Regions from separate parts of the Homo sapiens genome. Here regions 1, 2, 3, 4, 6 and 7 are each linked to region 5. The links are contacts of gene promoters, found by promoter capture Hi-C in blood cells and fetal thymus (Javierre and others, 2016). All regions are on one chromosome and are shown on one strand. Each heading gives the region's core, a stretch centred on a gene start or on the middle of the fragment in contact. The rest is flanking DNA. Distances are from core to core; before and after follow the strand shown.

What was found. Contacts are between HindIII fragments. The CHiCAGO score rates a contact against its expected background, and 5 or more counts as called.
Region 1: a contact is called between a fragment that was not itself captured here and the fragment with the promoter of SRP19 in region 5, in 3 of 17 cell types (total B cells, erythroblasts and naive B cells). The highest score is 7.2, in total B cells.
Region 2: a contact is called between a fragment that was not itself captured here and the fragment with the promoter of SRP19 in region 5, in 13 of 17 cell types (naive CD4 T cells, total CD8 T cells, activated CD4 T cells and 10 more). The highest score is 15.8, in naive CD4 T cells.
Region 3: a contact is called between the fragment with the promoter of EPB41L4A-AS1 here and the fragment with the promoter of SRP19 in region 5, in 7 of 17 cell types (total B cells, naive CD4 T cells, naive B cells and 4 more). The highest score is 10.2, in total B cells.
Region 4: a contact is called between a fragment that was not itself captured here and the fragment with the promoter of SRP19 in region 5, in 7 of 17 cell types (naive CD4 T cells, fetal thymus, naive CD8 T cells and 4 more). The highest score is 15.5, in naive CD4 T cells.
Region 6: a fragment that was not itself captured here is called in contact with the fragment with the promoter of SRP19 in region 5 in 2 of 17 cell types (total CD4 T cells and megakaryocytes); the score reaches 6.5 in total CD4 T cells.
Region 7: a fragment that was not itself captured here is called in contact with the fragment with the promoter of SRP19 in region 5 in 13 of 17 cell types (naive CD4 T cells, total CD4 T cells, total CD8 T cells and 10 more); the score reaches 13.5 in naive CD4 T cells.

The regions. Positions count from the first base shown.
Region 1 is chr5:112,175,871-112,178,944 of GRCh38, reverse strand. The region is part of intron 18 of EPB41L4A (erythrocyte membrane protein band 4.1 like 4A); the gene reads left to right. Among named protein-coding and RNA genes, the nearest start is that of SNORA13, 16 kb to the right of the region's middle. The HindIII fragment of the contact is 4,623 bases long and covers 1-3,074 here.
Region 2 is chr5:113,552,177-113,554,985 of GRCh38, reverse strand. It overlaps YTHDC2 (YTH N6-methyladenosine RNA binding protein C2), which reads right to left. Exons shown (of 30, transcript NM_022828.5): 13 at 1,627-1,805; 14 at 1,300-1,396; 15 at 1,132-1,219; 16 at 964-1,044. Among named protein-coding and RNA genes, the nearest start is that of YTHDC2, 40 kb to the right of the region's middle. The HindIII fragment of the contact is 587 bases long and covers 1,129-1,715 here.
Region 3 is chr5:112,159,276-112,161,775 of GRCh38, reverse strand. It overlaps EPB41L4A-AS1 (EPB41L4A antisense RNA 1), which reads right to left and starts at 1,250. Exons shown (of 3, transcript NR_015370.2): 1 at 481-1,250; 2 at 1-73. It overlaps SNORA13 (small nucleolar RNA, H/ACA box 13), which reads right to left and starts at 291; the gene lies at 159-291. It also overlaps a transcript of EPB41L4A not described here. RefSeq lists enhancers at 446-495, 606-655, 676-775, 551-1,283, 1,156-1,365 and 1 more. The HindIII fragment of the contact is 7,805 bases long and covers 1-2,500 here.
Region 4 is chr5:113,612,156-113,615,090 of GRCh38, reverse strand. No RefSeq gene overlaps it. Among named protein-coding and RNA genes, the nearest start is that of YTHDC2, 100 kb to the right of the region's middle. The HindIII fragment of the contact is 2,823 bases long and covers 58-2,880 here.
Region 5 is chr5:112,859,744-112,862,597 of GRCh38, reverse strand. It overlaps SRP19 (signal recognition particle 19), which reads right to left and starts at 1,311. Exons shown (of 5, transcript NM_003135.3): 1 at 1,181-1,311; 2 at 15-90. The coding sequence starts at 1,221. RefSeq lists enhancers at 1,014-1,313, 1,414-1,493, 1,252-1,546. The HindIII fragment of the contact is 2,166 bases long and covers 1-1,462 here.
Region 6 is chr5:113,572,279-113,575,091 of GRCh38, reverse strand. The region is part of intron 23 of YTHDC2 (YTH N6-methyladenosine RNA binding protein C2); the gene reads right to left. Among named protein-coding and RNA genes, the nearest start is that of YTHDC2, 60 kb to the right of the region's middle. The HindIII fragment of the contact is 6,540 bases long and covers 1-2,813 here.
Region 7 is chr5:113,590,010-113,593,116 of GRCh38, reverse strand. It overlaps YTHDC2 (YTH N6-methyladenosine RNA binding protein C2), which reads right to left. Exons shown (of 30, transcript NM_022828.5): 27 at 1,873-2,076; 28 at 939-1,121. Among named protein-coding and RNA genes, the nearest start is that of YTHDC2, 78 kb to the right of the region's middle. The HindIII fragment of the contact is 171 bases long and covers 1,425-1,595 here.

The DNA.
Region 1 (3,074 bases), core at 78-2,577, 680 kb after region 5:
AGATTTTGTTGCTTTTTCTTTGCTATCTGTTGTCTGTTTCATTGACTGTACTTTTTATTCTTTTTATTTTGTCTTTTACCTGCTCTTCTTTTTTCATCTTCTTAGGATAACATTTATTTTAAACCTTTCTACTTTTCCAATATAAGCATAAATTTATAAATTTCCCTTTCAGCCATGCTTTAACTATATCTCACATGTTTTTGACATTGTTTTTGTTATCATACAGTTCAAAATAATTTTTAATGTATCTTGTCTTTTTTTGATGCTGGCATTTTTAGTTGTGTGTTTAATTTCCAAATATTTCAGGATTTTCTACAAATATTATTATTATTCTAATTTAATTCCATTGTGGTTAAAAAAAAAAGTCTGAACAGTTTTAATCCCTTGAAATTTATTGAGACTTGTTTTAAGGCCTAGCATATGGTTTTTAATGATGAATAATCTGTAGACTCAAGAAGAATGAGGAGTCTCAGTTACTGGTTGTCGAATAGATGCAGTTAGCTGATAGTGTTCAGATTGTGTCTTTTTTTTTATTTCTTCATCTACTTTTCAAGTAGTCATTGAGAGAGGGATGTTAAAATCTACAACAGTGATTGTCAATTTGTCTGTTTTTTCCTTTAATTCTGTCAGTTTTTACTTCAAGTTATTTTGAAGCTCTGGTGTTAGGTGTATGCATATGTATGGTTTTTTCCTTCCTGATGAACTGATGACCCTTTATTCTGGCAATACTTTCTCTGTGTCCACTACACATGCACACGCATAAATTCTACCATACCTTCTTCATGTTTACTGTTTGCATGGTATATCCTTTTAATCTGTTACTTTAAGCCTAGTTATGTCTTTATATTTAAAGTCCACCTCTTGTAAACAGTGTACAGTTGGTCTTTTTGTTTTTTTTTTTTAATTCTAGCCTGACAATCCCTGTCTTTTAAGTTCAGTGTTTAGCCTGCTAGCAGTTAACATAATTATTTGTATTTTGCGATATAAATCTACCATCTTGTTCTTTTTTCTGGTTTATTACGCCTGTTTTTTGTTGGTTTGTTGCTCCCTTCCTACTTTATTTTGTGTGAACTGAATATTTTTTGATACTCCATTTTATTTTCTCTACTGATATCTTACCTATACTTTTATTATTTTTTTATTTATTGCTTTCTCTCTGTAAGTATGATTCTTATCAGTATGGTTCCTTATCACACCCTAAGATGAATATTGTAACATTTAAAATTTAGAAACATTGGAAAAATATAGCTCCACTTGTGCTTTGTGCTATTGTCATATATTTTATTTTTGCCTGTTAGAAGCCTCGTATTAAAATGTTAATGTATCTTTGCTTAAACAGTGAGTTTTTATATAAAGAAATTAAGAGGAGGAAAAACCTTAGTTACTGTGGTGGGAAGAATAATGACCCCTGATATATGTCCATGGCTTAATCTCCATAATGTGTGAATATATGACCCTAGATGGCAGAGAGGAGTTAAGATTGCAGGTGGAATTAAGGCTGTTGTTAATCAGTTGACCCTCACCCAGAGATATTATCCTGGATTATCCAAGTAGGCCCAAAGTAATCATAAGTTTCTTAAAAGTGGAAGAGGTGACAGAAGAGGAAGAGTGTTTCAGTTTGAAACGGACTCAACCTGCTGTTGCTGGCTTTGAAAATAGAGGAAAAGGCCTTGAACGAATAAATGTGGGCAGCTCCAGAAGATGGAAAACACAAGAAAATGAATTTTCCCTTGAGTCTGCAGAAAGGAATGCAGCCATGCCAACACCTTGATTTTAGTCCAGTAGGACCTGTGTCAGATTTCTCAGCTGATACGGCCAAAGTGCAGTTAAAGTAGAAAAAAAAATTATATATATATATTTGTGTGGATAGTAGTTCATTTAGAAGTTGCTGGCCGGGGACGGTGGCTCATGCCTGTAATCCCAGCACTTTGGGAGGCCAAGGCAGGCCGATCACCTGAGTTCAGGAGTTCAAGACAAGCCTGGCCAACGTGGTGAAACCTCGTCTCTACTAAAAATACAAAAATTAGCTGGGTGTGGTGGTGGGTGCCTGTAATCCCAGCTACTTGGGAGGCTGGGTCAGGAGAATTGCTTGAAGCTGGGAGGCGGAGGTTGCAGTAAGCCGAGATGGCGCCATTGCACTTCAGCCTGGGCAACAGGAGTGAAACTCCATCTCAAAAAAAAAAAAAAAAAAAAAAAAAAAAGTTGCTCTGGTGGGTAAAAAGCAGATTGAGAAAGAGGAAGAAAGGAAGCAGGAAAGCAATTAGAAAACTTTGCAGTGGTCCACGTGAGACGCTTTTAGCTCAGAAAAGATGGTGGTGGTGAAATGAAGAGAGTAGATGAATATACATTTTGGAAGTACAGCTGACAGATTTGTAGTGTGAGCGGTATTATGGATGACATTGAGTTTCTGAGCAGATGCACTGAGTGGGTAGCATCGTGTTTTACTGAGATGGGAAGGGATGGGCCAGGAATGTTTTGGGGGGGAGAGAATCAAGATTTCTCTTTGTTAGGTTTGAGATGCCAAGTAGGCAGTTAATGGAAATGTCAGGTGGACAACTGAATACAAATGTTGTAACTCTTAAGGATGATGGATTACTTCATATAGCACAAACTGAGCTCTGTCCTTTATTTGAGTTATGACTGTTAAAAGCCTGAGATTGATTGACAATTAATAAAATACCTGCTGGGTGCTGTTGTTTGCATTCTGGATCTTCAGCTTATTACCTGATCCCCATGAGCTTCCATCTCTACAACACTGATGGTACCACGCTCTTAGGATTTTGCTGAGCATTAAGTGAGGTTGTGCCTGTGTCACAGCCTTTATTAGTAAGTTCCCCCAGGTCTTAGTTATTCTCTAGAAACACTGCAAGGTATTTGTGTTTTTCCTTGAGATGAGGAGGTGGTGAGAAATGAAGAGAGTAGATAAGGCAACTCACAAAAAGTCCTTAGAGACTTGAATTTGGTTGTGTGAGGATTTAGGAACCACTACAGCTTTCTTTAAAAGTGGAAATATAAGCTGGGTATGGTGGCTTGTATGTGTAGTCCCAGCTACTTGGGAGGCTGAGGAGGGATGA
Region 2 (2,809 bases), core at 173-2,672, 690 kb before region 5:
ATATTCCTTAAAATTACATTGAAAACATAAGGCAATTACTTTTTTCACATTAAAAACGATCATTTTTATCCACTAAATAGATATAATTTGCTTTCCACACATGAGTAATATGTCTTCCCTTGAAAAATCAATTATCTTTACCACTTTCATTTTTTCAGCGAATGTTATCTACCAAAAGTTAGGAACATGGACAACTGCTGGGCATTCCAGTACTAAAAGGAAATAAATGGCTTTTTTTTTTTTATAACAAAGGTTGGCTGTTTTTGAAAAGGACTTTCAAATAGTAAATATTTTAGGCTTTGAGAGGGTCTCTGTTACAAATACTCCAATCTGCCTTGCAGTATGAAGGCAGCAACCATAGAGAAAAGGTAAAAGTAGACTAGCTGAGTTCCAATGAAACTTTTTTTTTACAAAAGCAAGTGTTAAGTCCAATTTAGCTGCTGGTTATCCCATGGTTTATCTATTTCTTTGCTTTCTTTCAGCATGGTTCTCTTGAACTGAGTATCTTTTGAACACCTGCTATAGGTGAGGCACTAAAGATTTAACAGTGAACAAAGACATAATCCATGTGCATATGTAGAAGGAAAACATAAAAAATATGTAATCAAATTCCCATACTGTGTGACAACATTTTCACTATAACTAACCAAACCCTTTACTTTCTTCCTAGTATTTGGTGAGCAGAGCTACATTTTTGTATACTTTGTTAAAATAACAAAAATTGATTCTATATACTGAATTATTTAAGGCAGAATATTTAGTAAAATCAATATTTAGTATGTTAAATTTATCTAGAACCAGACATTTTTCGTAAATTCTGCTTATAAAAGCATGCGCTGGTCCAAGCTGTCTTGAGTAGAGGTAAAATTAAAAGAAAAACAACTAAATAATAAATAAAAGTATTTGTTGAAGTAGAACTTAATCTTCTTCATTTAAGTAAAACTACAACTTACCCATACATACCTCTTTCACCTTACCAGAATCAATAACAAAGACAACATCATTGACTGTGATGCTGGTTTCAGCAATATTGGTGGAAAGAATCTGCAACAAGATATTACTTTAAAGTTAATAAAAAAACAGAAAAAATAACTAATGAAAGTGTTAAAAAGAAGATTTTATGAAGCTTACTATTTTTCGAACACCTGCAGGTGGGTTTTTTAATACTTTCTTTTGATCGGATGTTTGCATATTTGAATGAAGCATAAAGACTTGGTATCTGCAGACAATTGAAAGAGAAAACATACTATAAGACCTGTCCGTTATTTTAAGCAACAGATATAAGGCTTTAGCCCTTACCTATGTGTACTGTCAGCAAACCGCTTGTCATCAAACAGGATGCGATCTCTCAGTCCAACAATTTCGTCATATCCAGGCAGAAAAATTAGTACTGCACCTTGGAGAAGAATGACTTTTTAATATTAAATCTCATTGTGAATCAGAGGCAATCAACAGAATTATAAAAATCTGTATCACATGTTTTCAAGTACTGGTAAACTATCATAAGATGACAGGAGATTATTCACTTACTACTATCAGTGCAATTATATAAAAATTTGTACACTTAAAATATTAATTCTTAAAGTATATATTTTGCTCCAGTTCTTTTAGACAACACGTATTTACCAGCATCACAACTATGGCAGATATTGTATAGAAGATGCATGATCAAATCCAAGTCTACTTTTTCATCATCGAAACTATGATGATAAGCTTTCAGGAGCTCTCTGTCTTCAGCACTGAGGTCACTTCCATTTGTTTGAACCAGAGAACTTTCATCTAGATTTCCAAATTCCAGTGTAGCACTGAAAAAAAAAAAAAAAAAAAAGACAAAGTCAATTTCCATTAACAAAAGTAATCCTTATGTCCTTCAAATTTCCAATATTCCCTAAGGAAGGTAAGGTAAGTGACACTTAATGTCCTAGCTATAATATGATTCATGTTTTGATTTCAAGCACATTATTCAAAGTAAAATTTGGCAATGAATGCTTTTAGAAAAGCACAATCTGAAGGCATTTCTCCAAAGTAAATATACAAATGGCCTATAAGCACATGAAAAGATGTTCAACATCATTAGCTATCAGGGAAATGCAAATCAAAACCACAATGAAATACCACTTCACACCAACTAGGATGACTACAATCAAAAAGACAGACAATAACAAGTGTTGGAGAGGGTGTGGAGAAATTTAAACCCTCATGCATTGCTGGTGGAAATGTAAAATGGTAAAGCTGCTTTGGAAAACAATGTGGCAGTTCTTCAAAAGGTTAAACATAGAGTTACCATATGCCCCAGCAATTCCACTCCTAGGTGTATATATAAGAGAAATGAAAAAAATATATCCACATAAAAATCTGTACACAAATATTCATACCAGTATTATTCATAGTCAGAAAGTGGAAACAACCTAAGTGTTCATCAATTGACAAATATACAAACAAACCTTGGTATATCCATAGAATATGTATTAGTCATAAAAATAGTGCTACAACATGGATATTTTATGCTAACTGAAAAAAGCCAATCACAAAAACCACATATCACATGATTTCATTTATATAAAATGTCCAAAATAGACAAATCTATAGAAACTGGAAGTAGATTAGTGGTTGGTCTAAAGCTGGAGGAGGCCTAGGAGAGTTGGGGCGGAATAGGGAGAGACACCTAATGGGTACAAGTTTCTTTTTGTGGTGATGAAACTGTTCTAAAATTGATTGTGGTGATGATTGCATAAGTCTGTGAACATATGAAAAACCATTGAATTGGTCACCTAAATGGGTGAATTATATGGTATATTAATTATATCTC
Region 3 (2,500 bases), core at 1-2,500, 700 kb after region 5:
CTTCAGGTCACCTTTATGCTCCCAGATGGTATTCAGCTAGCAGCAGTCTACACTTCAGGCATCCATCTTCCACCTGAACAAAAATTAGAACTGGCTAAGAGAAACCATACACTTAAGGCTAGCAGGGTCAAGATCACGCGTGGAAACGTAAAAGCAGCAACTGTTACTTATGCAGCTCCTACACCAAAGGTATCAAATTTAAGGGCAGGAAAAGGCTGCAAAGCGTTTAATTTACGCCTTTTTTGACACCACATTCACTAGTTTCCAAAGTGAATGGGCAACACAAAGGCTGACACTGCGTGAGGTAGGCTTTATGGCATAAGGTTGCTGACTGGCTGACAGTAATGCCGATTACAGCCTAAAAACGGACAATACATTTCAGAGAAATTTTCTCACGATTTAAAATCCGACTTAATAATGAAAAGTGAAATGCGATGCGTTTTAAATGGCGACTGGTCTTGCACGAACGTGAAAACTCACCTGTAGGGTAGGTGATCACTCCCGACGAGCACCGCACGTGGAAACAGCTGTAACCAGGCACGCTGCTTTTAAGTTATTTTATACGGGGGCAGGGCAAGCATAAAGTCAGTTATACGGTAAGGCCTTTTCACTGACGAAAATAAAACCAGGCTTATCTGGAGAACTCCCTGGCATAGTCGATGATGTAAACACAAATCGACGAAGCTCCCCGTTTCCAAACGTGGGAACGCAGGCCTGAGGCCAGGCCGCTGCCCTTGTTCACGGCCCCGGACACTTCGGACACAGGCCGCCGCAGTCGACTCACCAGACTCAGGGTGGCCGCGTTCCCCCGCCCGGCGCCCCTGCGTGAGAGACCACGCGGCCACAGCCAGGCGCCATCCCAGAGGACCCAGAGCAAAAACCACAGCAAGCTCGCACCAAAAGGAAGAAAGGACAGGCTTCCGTCCCACAATGCTTTTCTACAAGTGGAAGGACCCACTGTCCGAGAGCGCGAGGGGGGAGCGGGCTGTACCATCGGCCGCTGCGCTATGGCGAGACGCCGCCGTGTGGCCGGAGGGAGAAGTGCCAGTGAGGGACCGAGGGGCGTGTCACCAAAGGGAGGAGGAGCCTGGGTTCTCAGCCCGAGTCACCTCTGCGGATGTGTGGCCAGTTCTTTCCACAGAGGAGGTATCCAGACATCCCCCCACCCGACCAGGGTCAAGAGCATATGATCAGTGCTGGCAGCGGCAGGAGCCCAAAGGACTTTAGACCACGTATTTTGGGACCCGACAGAATTCATGAGTCCAGCTGAGGAAGAGTAGAGTCATTCATTCGAAAGATATTTAGTCAGCACTTACTATGCTCCAGGCCCTGGCCTGAGTGCCTGGGAATCAGGTGTGGGTGAGCCAGGCAAGGTTTCTGTGGTACATTCTGCTTGGGTGAGTAGGCCACTGACCAAGTGAGCCCGGATGCTGAAATTCTACAATGTAAGTGCCAGGAGGGCAGCAAAAGAGGGTCATGCCATAGGGTAGCGCTGTCCGATGGAAACAGTGTGAGCCATGAGTGTAATTTTAAATTTTCCAATTGCCACATAAAATGTGAAAAGAACGCCGGGCGCGGTGGCTCATGCCTGTAATCCCAGCACTTTGGCAGGCTGAGGCAGGTGATCACCTGAAGTCAGGAGTTCAAGACCAGCCTGGCCAACATGGCAAAACCCCGTCTCTACTAAAAATACAAAAATTACTTGGGCTTGGTGGCGGGCGTCTATAATCCCAGCTACTTGGGAGGCTGAGGCAGGAGAAATGGCTTGAACCCGGGCGGGGTGGGGGTGGAGGTTGCGGTGAGCCGAGATCATGCCACTTGACTCCAGCCTGGACAAAAGGGCGAAACTCCGTCTCAAAAAAAAAAAAAAAAAAGTAAAAAGAAACAGATCAAATTAATTTTAATAATAACCCAACATATTTTAAATATTTCAACAGGCAATCAATATGAGATTATTAATAAGATATTTCTTTTATATCTACTAAGTCATAAAAATCCGGTGTATATTTTATACTTCCAGCACATTTCCGTTCAGACTAGACACATTTCAAGTGTTCAGTAGCTCATGGGGCTAGGAATAGGAAGACTGGAAGTGAACTCCGAGCAGATGTGTGAAGGCGGTTATGCAAGATCTGGAGACAGCAGGCCTTGGCCAGTGTGGCTGGAGTCGAGTAAGGAGTGTAGAGTGACAAGATGCAGCTGGAGAGCCAGGCAGGAGCAAGGCACTTAGGGTCTTGTCACACAGGGCAAGGTGTTGGGATTTTATGCTGAAATCTTAGAGTTGATTAATTATCACCACAAAAATTAAGCAGAGTTTGTTAATTGGCTTTTTTCCTGATAACCATAACTCCTTGAAGGGACAGGACAAGTGGCAGCAAGACAAGTTGTATGATAACAACTAGGTCTCCATGTTTCTCTAAGTCCTAGCAGAGATTCATCCAGAGACCAGTTTTAGCACCTTTCGTTGTTTCTTTGAAGCCTACTTCTATAAAAGAAAGAA
Region 4 (2,935 bases), core at 220-2,719, 750 kb before region 5:
ACAATTGTTTACTGAAATTTAGCAGAGACAACCTTGAGTTTCAGATATAGCAAAGCTTGTCTATTAGTGCAAATGGAAAGGTTGGTTTTTAAAAGGCACTTTATTAATTTAATATTGTTAGCTTTGGTGGAAAGAAGTGTGAAGGAAAGGTACTTTGATTCCTGTCTTTTCTAGGGTGTGGCTGAGGACTGAGGAGCAAACATAATAGGGAAGTGGAGGGGAAAAGACATAGCAGTAGCTTTGGATACTGCTTAAAGACACTTTTGGAGGATTCATTTGGAAGGATTATCCTCCAGAAACGTGGGTCCTGAGCACATGTGGTAGCTCCATTTGGTGCCTTGGTTTAATGGTCTGAACATGAAGGATGCCACAGAACTCATTGAGGAAGACCCACTGCTTGTGAGAATCTGTCCAGCCACTTTTCCACCGTGCTCCACTCTCGCAGCCCATGTGACTTGAGGCTTTCTCTATCTTCATGTCTGGGAACTCCAAACACTAATATTTACAGCACATCTCTTAAGTGTTGTCAAAACTGCTTATTGTAAAGGAAAATTTTAAAGAATCTCAGGACCCCCAAACTCCTTATGCAAAAGGAAGGTTAAGCCTGAAGACTGAGTCGTGCAACATCCTCTTGCAAATGAATAGCTGCTACTAGCATTATGCATCAGCCAGATCCTCAAGGAGAGGTGGAGAAGTGAAAGGCCTCAGGCATCTAGGGAGGGCTGTCTCCACAGATCACTCATAAGTAAATTATTTGCTGGCCTCCCATAAACAAGGACATGCCAATTGTAACTGTGGGTCTACAGTCTAAGTCTAGTTCCTAAGACTAAAGTCTGTTATACATATCTTACCAGGTACAGAACAAAGACAAGATGAGGTCAGTCACTTCCTCCATCTACCCAGAAATGTCTGCATTATTGATTCTCCTTTACTCCTTTTTTTCTCTTCAGGGGTTCCCTTTATCCCATGTAAAATGTAGATTCACTGGCCACTAACTAAAGTCTCATAAGAATGTAACTGCCTACCTGTCTCTCTTCCAAATGCCGTAATCTCTTCCAAATTACATAAGAATGTAATTCATCTAACTGCCTACCTGTCTCTCTTCCAAATGCCTTCCCCTGCTTTAAGGAAGTGTATAAATACTGAACTCCTGAAAACCTCTCTGAAAAACAATCAGAGAAGAACATATGTCTATGGCTTATTTTTTCGCAGAATACCCTAAAGCTGGCTTAATAAATCTAGATAGTTGAGACTGTTACAGTAGGTAGCTAGTCAGGTGTATTAGTTCGTTTTCATGGTGCTGGTAAAGACATACCTGAGACTGAGCAATTTACAAAAGAAAAAGGTTTAATTGGACTTACAGTTCCATGTGGCTAGGGAAGCCTCACATCATGGCAGAAGGCAAGGAGGAGCAAGTCATATCTTAACTGGATGGCAGCAGGCAAAAAATGAGGGAGCGTGTGCAGGAGAATACCTCTTTTTAAAACCATCAGATCTCGTGAGACTTACTCACTATCACAGGAACAGCATGGGAAAGATTTGCCCCCATGATTCAATTACCTCCCACCTGGTCTCTCCCACAACACGTGGGAATTCAAGATGAAATCTGGGTGGGGACACAGCCATGAGGCACGAGCAGGGCAAGAGAGGGCTCCCCTAACCACCACCAGGAATGCCAGGCAACCATCAGGTGATGGTCAGGCAGTTTGTCACATGGCCTCTCCAAAATGATAATTGGTCACAGCCTCTGCCAGAGAAAGGCAGTTTCCCATTAGATAAAAACAACTGAAACTGGAGATCAGCAGCTTCCCAATAAGATCTCAGGAATTGGGTGAGTGGGCTCAAACATATGCATTAAGAGGCAAAATGGTGCAAATTAACTGGTATATGACTTTCTGGGGGCATTCCTCTGGAAAACGGAAGACTGCATCAGGTGAGCATGCTTACAACTCCAGTAAACATACTGCACATACTCACCTCCCAAGTGCTAGCAGCACCACACATGTGGGCAGCTCACCCCAAGGGAAGAATCAAGGTAAAAGGGAGGCAAGACACTGGCAGCATATAAAACCCTAAGTCCAAGGTCAAACAGGGCACTTTACCTCCAACATTCCCACTTGACCCTCTTCCAAGTGTACTTTACTTTCTTTTCATTCCTGCTCTGAAACTTGCCTTGGTCTTTTCTTCTGCCTTATGCCCCTTAGTTGAATTCTTTCTTCTGAGGAGTCAAGAACTGAGGCTGCTGCAGACCCACACAGATTATCCAACAGTAACTGTGATATTCACCATTGATAACAAGACTTTTGCCTCAGTCACTCATTCCTGTTATCATAATACGTACATCTATATAGGGTTACCTTTGGCCCTCAAAATAACATACTGCACTTAAGAAATGTCTAAAGCTAACCAGGAAAGGGGAGAGGGGAGGCTTATGTCAGAGAAAAGCGGCTTTCTTTGCAAACTCTTCCCTAAGTAAAGCTCTCTTTAGCATTATCAGGATCCCAAGAGAAGGATCAGATTTTCAGTCATGGTCAGTTTTAACTGAAATATATGTGTCTCAGAGCCAAAGGCATCTAAAGTCCACAACCAGCACCACCCCCAGTCTCTCAGCTAGCCAGAGGTGCATCCTAAAGTGATTTGGGGTTGAAAGAGGAGAGCCCAGACTCCAGGTGCTCCTTCCCCTCAGGGCATCCTTTCCATTTTTTCAAAGGGGTTTTTTTTCCAGTCAAGGCTCTCTCTTAAACTTTTGGGAACGCAGTTCCTCATGTGTAAGACAAGGAGAAGGAATATGCAGTTTCTAAAATTCCTTCCTTCCCTCAAATGGTTTTGAAGAGGTTTCGTTTAAACCACTGAGCTATTTCAATTCATATCAATGAAGCTTATGATTGGTGCATGAAAACACGTACAATATCACCATCTAGCGGATAAAAGGTAG
Region 5 (2,854 bases), core at 62-2,561:
GCCATCTTGCTTACCTTACTTATGGGGATTCGCCTTCCCTCTGCGATGGTCTTCTTATTATTTAAATAAGCAGGATAGATACAAATAAACCTGCCATAGACAATAGCATAAGTGGTATCACTAGAGCAGTAAGAGGCAGGAGAAAAGGGTCGGGTGGCAGGGAACCAAAGGCCAATTCATGCTGCCTAGATATCAGATGGGTACTCCCTTTTCAACCCCTCCTTTTTCTGCGTGGCAGTTGAAAAATCAAAGTACCTCGGAGTGGTCCCCTCGAGCAACTAATCAGACTGGCCGCGGGCCTACTCCTCTTTCTGATTGATCCCCCTCCCTCAACCAATCAGACTGGCACAGGTCAATGGGAAACGTCTAGAGGGTATTTAAACCCTAGAAAATTCTGTAACCAACAGCTCTTGGGTAGCTTGCTGGAGCCGGCTCCCACCCTGTGGAGTGTACTTTTGTTTAAAATAAATCTGCTTTCGCTGCCTTGCTTTGTGTGTTTTGTTCAATTCCTTATTCAAAACGCCAAGAACCTGGACAACTACACTCAACAGATAACAAGTATTTTCAAAAATACATTCTTTCGGTCCGTGGTAGTCGTCATCATTGCTGGTACACCTATGCTATTATTTGCTTAATGTTATTTCTTTAAATTACCTCACTTTAACTTATTTAAAAATAAACTTTATCCACTACCTTGGATGGAAAAAAACCACAGGAATAGAAACAAAACGACTTGGGTAACTGTTACATTAGACAGAGCAGCCCGTCAAAAGTTCCTGAGAATGGGCCCGCCCTCTTATATAAAGTGTCCGAGGTATTAAAAACCTTAAAATTTCACAAATGAGCCTTTCTGAACGCAACAATACTTAAAAAGAACACATTTCTCACACTGTGATTATATTACTTGATATCATGTCCACGTAGCACCCAAAATCCTTGTCTCGCGTACAGATAAACACTAGGCTACCTATGGTCGGAATTTCAGGAGCCCTGAGAAGAGCCTGGTGGCTGCTGCAGGATTCAGAAAAACGAGCTGCCAGGGAGAGGCGCGGGGCCCGTACAGAGCGAGTTGGATCAGCTAGGCCATTCTGGAGGCCGCGGAGCGGAGAAGCGCGGTGTAGCACCTGCAGCACCACAGCAAGCCCCTTCCTTTCGGAGGACCCACCGCCTCAGAACCCACCTGTCCTGGTCGGCCGGGGACCGCGCGGCAGCGCAAGCCATCTTCACAAGAGTCTCAACAACCCAGGAGCCGCAGGGAGAAACCCGGCAGAAACCCGGGAGGAACCCGGCTCTGAGTTTCCGAGACAGCCCGCTTTTCCGCCGGAAGTCCTGCCCAAGAAATGGTTCCGCGTCCGCGATTTCTCATCGCCTGTTTGTTCCGGCACCTGTCGCTCGGCGCCAGGATCTCTAGTCTCTGACGTGGCATGAAGACTTCCCTTCTCGCGAGAGAATCATGAAAGCTTCTCATTCCTTTCCCAAGCCGGGAAGACCATGTGGGGCGCATGCACCGCCACTAAAAAGGGTTTAACTTCGACCCTCCCTCGTTTCCAGTTTCTCAGCGAGTATGGGTGGTACTAGCTACTCTCTGTTAAGGGGCGAAGACTGTGCCACGAGGGGAATCTGTGTGGTTCAGGATGCAAATATATGTTAGACAGGGAAGGAAATACTCCTTACGTTTAATTTTTCTCCGTTCCTGGGCTCTAGAGCTTGCTTTCAGTTTGGCAAAATGGATTTTTGTAGTGGTAGAACTAGCAAAGTTATAGACGTTGTGTTTCAGTGTGCTCTGCGTTAGAAACTTAGCTATTCACCTTTTAGGCCGGGTGCGGTGGCTCACGCCTGTATCCCAGCACTTTGGGAGACTGAGGCAGGTGGATCATGAGGTCAGGAGTTGGAGAGCAGCCTGGCCAACATGCTGAAACCCCGTCTGTACTAAAAATACAAAAATTAGCCGAGTGTGGTGGCACACGCCTGTAATCCCAGCTACTCGGAGGCTGAGACAGGAGAATCACTTGAACCCAGGAGGTGGAGGTTGCAGTGAGCTGAGATCACACCACTGCACTCCAGCCTGCGTAACAGAGCAAGACTCCGTCTAGGAAAAACGAAACAAAACTATTCACCTTTTAAAACTTCTGAAGGATACCATGTGCCATCACTACAGGCATACTTCATTATTGCACTTCACTTGCTGCTGCGAGTAGATACTGCCTTTTTACAAATGGAAGGTTTTTGGCAAATCCGCCTGAAAGAAGTTGCTTGGTGCCATTTTTCCAGCAGCGTATACTTTGTGTCACATTTGGTAATTTTTGCAATATTTCAAACCTTTTCATTATTTCTGTTATGGTGATCGGTGATCAGTGATGTTTGCTGTTACTATTGTAATAGTTTTAAGGCCGGGTGCGGTGGCTCACGCCTGTAATCCCAGCACTTTGGGAGGCCGAGGCAGGTGGATCACGAGGTCAGGAGATAGACACCATCTTGGCCAACATGGTGAAACCCCATCTCTACTAAAATATAAAAAATAAGCCAGGCATGGTGGCACAGGCCTTTAGTCCCAGCTACTCGGGAGGCAGGGGAATCTCTTGAACCCAGGAGGTGGAGGTTGCAGTGAGCCAAGATCACACCACTGCACTCCAGCCTGGCGACAGTGCAAGACTCCGTCTCAAATAATAATAATGTTTTGGGGCACCATGAACCATGCCCAGATAAGATGGGGAACTTAATGGATAAATGTTGTGTATGTTTTAACTGTTCGACCAACTGGCCATTTCCCATCTCTCTCCCTCTTCTGGAGTCCCTATTCCCTGAAACACAACAATGTTGAAATTAGGCCAGTTAGTAACCCTACAATGGCCTC
Region 6 (2,813 bases), core at 14-2,513, 710 kb before region 5:
GGTTCTCACATTCGGACATACTAGGCATACATACAAATCAACCCATGGAGAATGAAGAAAAGTAGGTGAAGGCGACAGCCCACACAGGAGCAGCACAGAGCAAAAGGAACCCTCACCCCCAGCCAAGGGAAGCAGTGAGTGATTATATGACCCCTCCCGGGAAACCACATTTCTCCCATGGATCTTTGCAACCTGTGAATCAGGGGATCCCTTTGTGAGCCCATGCCACAGATCTGTGTGGAGTGTTGGCAGAGCAGCCACTCAGGCACACACAGAAACGTAGGAGTTTTACATACTCTGGCCCTGGGATCCCTAGCAAGGCAGGAAATCTGTTTGTACATATCCCTAGGAAGGGGGCTGAATCCAGGAAGCCAAGCAGCATCATTCTGTGGGATCCACTTCCATGGCACCTCACCAATTATGACCTACTGGCTTGGGATGCCAGCCAGCCAACAGCAGTGGGTTGGTCTGTCTGAGATGGGGCCGAGTTCCCAGGGGGAGGGGTGGCTGCTATCTTTGTGGTTTGGTTGACTCAGCCACTCCAGCCTGATGGCTATACAGGCAGTCTGGATGAGGAAGGGTTCCCACCAATGCAGCACACCTGCTGTATCAAAAAGCAGCCAGACTGCTTCTTTGTACAGGTCCCTGATCTCATTCCTCCTGACTGGGTGAGACCTCAGAACAGGGGCTTCCAGTCACCTCCTACAGATGCATGTGGGCCAGCAACAGGCCAATAACCCCCAGGACAGAACTTCCAGAGGAAGGAGCTGGCTTCCATCTTTGCTGTTTTGCAGACTTCACTGGTGATACCTCCAGGTACAGGAAAAACTGAGGCAACTGAGGTCTGGTGGGGAGCCCCAGCAAACCGCAGCAGCCCTATGGAAGACTGGCCTGACTCTAAAAGAAAAACAAACAGAAAACAACAACAACATCAACAGAAAAGACTCCACAAAAACCTCATTCAAAGGTCAGCATCCTCAAAGATCAAAGGTAGATAAGCCCGCAAAGGTGAGAAATAATGCAAAGATGCTGAAAACTCAAAAAGCCAGAGTGCCTCTTCTCCTCCAAATGATTGTGATACCTCTCTAGCAAGGGCACAGAACTGGGCTGAGGCTGAGATGGCTAAAATGACAGAAGTAGGCTTCAGAAGGTGGGTAATAACAAACTTCGCTGAGCTAAAGAAGCATATTGTAACCCAATGCAAAAAAGCTAAGAATCATGATAAAACAATACGGGAGCTAATAGCCAGTTTAGAGAAGAACATAACCGACCTAACGGAGCTGAAAAACACAACAGGAGAACTTCACAATGCAATCACAAGTATCAACAGAAGCACAGACCAAGCAGAGAATAGAATCTCAGAGCTTGAAGACCGTCTTTCTGACATAAAACAGGCAGACAAGAATAGAGAAAAAAGAATGAAAAAAGAAATGAACAAAACCTCCAAGAAATATGGGATTATATAAAGAGGCTGAACCTATAACTGACTGGGGTAGCTGAAAGATAAAAGAGAATAGAACCAAGCTGGAAAACATACTTCAGGATATCATCCAGAACTTCCCTAACCTAGCAAGACAGGCCAACATTCAAATTCAGGAAATCCAGAGAACCCTAGTATAATACTCCATGAGAAGATCAACCCCAAGACAAAAAAATCATCAGATTCTCCAAGGTCTAAAGGAAAGAAAAAATGTTAAGGGCAGCCAGAGAGAAAGGCCAGGTTACATACAAAGGGAAGCCCATCAGACTAACAGTAGACCTCTAAGAGGAAACCCTACAAGCCAGAAGAGATTGGGGGCCAATATTCAACACTCTTAAAGAAAAGAATTTCCAACCCAGAATTTCATATCCAGCCAAACTGAGCTTTATAAGTGAAGGAGAAATAAGATCCTTTTCAGACAAGCAAATGCTGAGGGAATATGTCACCACCAGGCCTGCCTTGCAAGAGCTCCTGAAGGAAGCACTAAATATGAAAGGGAAAAATCCATTACCAGCCACTACAAAAACACACGGAAGTACACAAACCAGTAACACTATGAAGCAACCACATAAACAAGTCTGCAAAATAACCAGCTAGCATCATGACAGAATCAAATTCACACATAACAATACATAACCATAAAAGTAATATTGAAGGTAAATGGGGTAAATGTCCCAAGTGAAAGGCACAGAATGGCAAACTGGATAAAGAGCCAAGACCCACGAGTATGCTGTCTTCAAAAGACCCATCTCACATGCAAAGCCACACATAGGCTCAAAAGAAAGGGATGGAGGAAAATTTACCAAGCAAATGGAAAACAGAAAAAGGCAGTGGTTGCAATCCTAGTTTCTGATAAAACAGACTTTAAACCATAAAGATCAAAGAAAGGCATTACACAGTGGTAAAGGGCTCAATTCAACAAAAAGAACTCATGATCCTAAATATATATGCAAGCTAATACAGGAGCACCCAGATTCATTAAACAAGTTCTTAGAGACCTACAAAGAGATTTAGACTCCCATACAATAATAGTGGGAGACTTTAACACCCCACAGACAACATTAGACAGATCATCAAGACAGAAAATTAACAAAGATATTCAGGACCTGAACTCAGCTCTGGATCAAGTGGACCTGATAGATATCTACAGAACTCTCTACCCAAAAACAAGAGAATATACATTCTTCTCATCGCCACATGGCATTTATTCTAAAATTGATCACATAACTGGAAGTAAAACACTCCTCAGTAAATGTAAAAGAAGTAAAATCATAACAGTCTATCAGACCACAGCACAATCAAATTAGAACTCAAGACTAAGACATTCACTCAA
Region 7 (3,107 bases), core at 261-2,760, 730 kb before region 5:
AGATTTAAGATTACAGTTAATCTGCAAAATCTCTCAACTTTTGTGACAAAATGGCAACAGATTCCCATGGAGTCCTGGAACTGTTTCTACCTAAAAATAATGGATTTTGTTTTTCATAGAGATTCAGCAAAAGCACTCAGCTGGAACTTCCAAAGGTTTACTGTGAAACCTAGCATATTCGATGTTGGGTTTTTTTCCAAGGAACTCTCTTAAGCAACTATATCTTCTTATCTTGAAAATTATTAAAATATTTTTTCTTCTAAGATTTCTAGCTAACATATTTCTTCAAAATCATTATTATAGAATAAAAATGAAATTATTCTCACACAATTGAAAAGAATCCCACTTCATAGTACTCCTGTGGAATGATAACCTATGATAAGCACTTAAGAAGAACCCAAACACTTTTTACATGGTGATTTGAAACGAGTCATACTGGTTCAGATAAATTATTAGCTGTGTGACCTTAGGCAAAACTAATCTTTGAGTCTATTTTCTCCTATATAAAATTGGACTAATAATTTAATCATAAGAAATAAATTATATCTTCTAAAGCAGCTAGCATAGTATTTGGTCAATATACATTAATTTCCATCATCTTAACTAGCTTAAAATGCATGTAAATAGCATCATGAAGACAAAGCAAAACACAATAGAAATAAACAAGCCACTAGAATATAAAAAGGTTATTTACTTTACATAATTAAAGCCAAAGAGAAGTTAAATACTATTGTCATCTTGAGACTCTGACTGCAAGGAGCAATCAGACACATTTACAAGTAGGTTTTTACTATCTTTTTACAAACCTGAACCCCTGTTTCCCATGTGCATATGGAATATAAAATTTGTACTCTTACATTTTCTCCTCAATTAAAGCACTGGATAACAGAAAACAAACAGAAACAAAAGTAAATAAAAAAAAAAATGCCATTGTATACCTGCCCATCCCTGCTTATCTGCACTTTCTTGTTGTCATTCCATGGATTGAGTAAATGGTGTGCAAATTGAAAGGGAAGGCTTTCTTTTCGTATCCACTCCACCTTAAATACTCCTCCTAGTCCAGCAGAGCCCCAGTCCTGACTCTTTTCCCTTCCAATCTCAGAAGACATCCTAGAAAATCCCTGTAGGTAAAATGGGAGGAAGGAATAGAGGTGAGGAGGAGATTAGCATGTCTAAATTTAATTTATCTGAGAAGGCTGAGTTTTTAAAATTTTAAGATTAAGATATAATATTGAAATAACAGATACCTAACAAAAACAAAAAATAAGCTACTAAATTTTTCATTAAAAGCTCTCTTAGCAAATTTTAGAAAAAAACAGTTCTAGCCTCCTAACAATTTCAAATATCAATAATGATTTCTAAATAAAATAGCAAAGTCCATATTTTTATTCCATGATAAATGGATACAAGCTAACCTCTAAGCTTTCATTTCCAAAAATTATAATAAACATCAAATAATAAATGTATTATTTTATAAATTCAGGTATACATTAAGTCAAGATGGGTGATGGGTTAAGAAACATACTTAGTTTACTGATTGTCAATACTAACTTCCTTGGCCTATTTAAATAAATATTTTACCAAAAGGTCAAGCTTCTCATTACTTTGAATCCACTTGAGAATTAGTAAATCTAAAGTTGTCTTCAGAAGGAAACATAGTTTACCTGGAAAGACTCTGGTAAGACAAGGCAAAAACAAAGAGGATTCCAGTTCTATCATCCTCTAAAGAGATGCAATATATCCCTTATTCTCAGTCAAGCAAAAGGCATTCTTGCATTCTGATGCAATGAAAAGCCAGTTGTTTTTCTAAAAATCTCTATGATTTAACCTATAGCCAGAACAACCCCATTTTACTGATTCAGGGTGGCTCACCTGGAAATGTCCAGATCCTTGAACAGAAAATACCAAGTAAACTATGCTGCTTTCCCAAAAGGCTCGATTTAGCTTCCGTTCATTACTAGGAGTTGTAGACCAGATACCCTTCTGTTGAGAAATTTCAAGGTTTCTCAAATTGCTACTCTTCATTATGAAGTATCGAACAGGCATGTTTGGTCTTGGCGAAGGAGATTTTGAGCCCTATAAAAGAAAACATAAGTTCTTGAAAGGTAACCTGACCTTTCAAAACCAAGAGGCTCCATTAAATAACATCTTCATAAACATATAAGCCAAAATATTTTATCATATATTCAACAAATGCAAATAGCTCTATCATGTCTGAAACCTACACAAGACTCAACCAAAATAAAGTTAGCCAAAAACAAGTACTCATTTTCAGAGCATTCAAAATCCCTTATCAACAAAGGCTCCTGGAGTACCAACTTTGGTTTATACCTCAAATATACTTTCAGAAATTGTTTTAATAAACTTTCAAAATCAGAAAACAAAACAAATACTTCTCCAGCTTACTGCCTGGAGGCAGTTTTCAGAGGACAAAGAAAAACAGAGTCCAGTGGTCTCATTAAGTTGTGCAGAAAGACACTGGAGTTCAGAGACCGAAGTGGCTACTGTGCATGGCAATGTACTATCTTAGACAGAAAGGAGCTGCACATAAAGAGAGCTCCAAAGGAAACACAGAGGGGTTCCCACAAGTTTTTGGCTAAGTGCTGACCTGAACATGAGTGAGAAAAAAGATAAATAACCCAAGGCTAGGGAAAGATCCAAAGGAAAACAAGTAGACCAAACAATTCCTAGAGCTCACTCATGGCTGGGAATATTTCGTGTTATCTTCAGCCAGAACAGATAGAACCTGTAATATATATGGTACTGGCCCACAGAAGGGCCATACCTTAGTATTGGAACTAAATTAATAACAGAATAAAGACTGCTCTGGCCCATTCCTAACATTACTTAAAAGCAAACTTCAAAAGGATTCAACTGATTGCAACTAAACTGTGCATCACAACAAAGTCTAACGCTATTGAAAGGAATATACAAAAACCTAGCTGCCCAACAAAATTATAAGAAACACAAAGAATATACAAAGGTTGTTATTTACATAATTAAGGCTGAAGAGAAGTTAAATACTGTTGTCATCTTGAGACTCTGATTGCAATGAGCAATCAGACACATTTACAAGTAGATTTTTACTAGCTCTTTACAAATCTGAA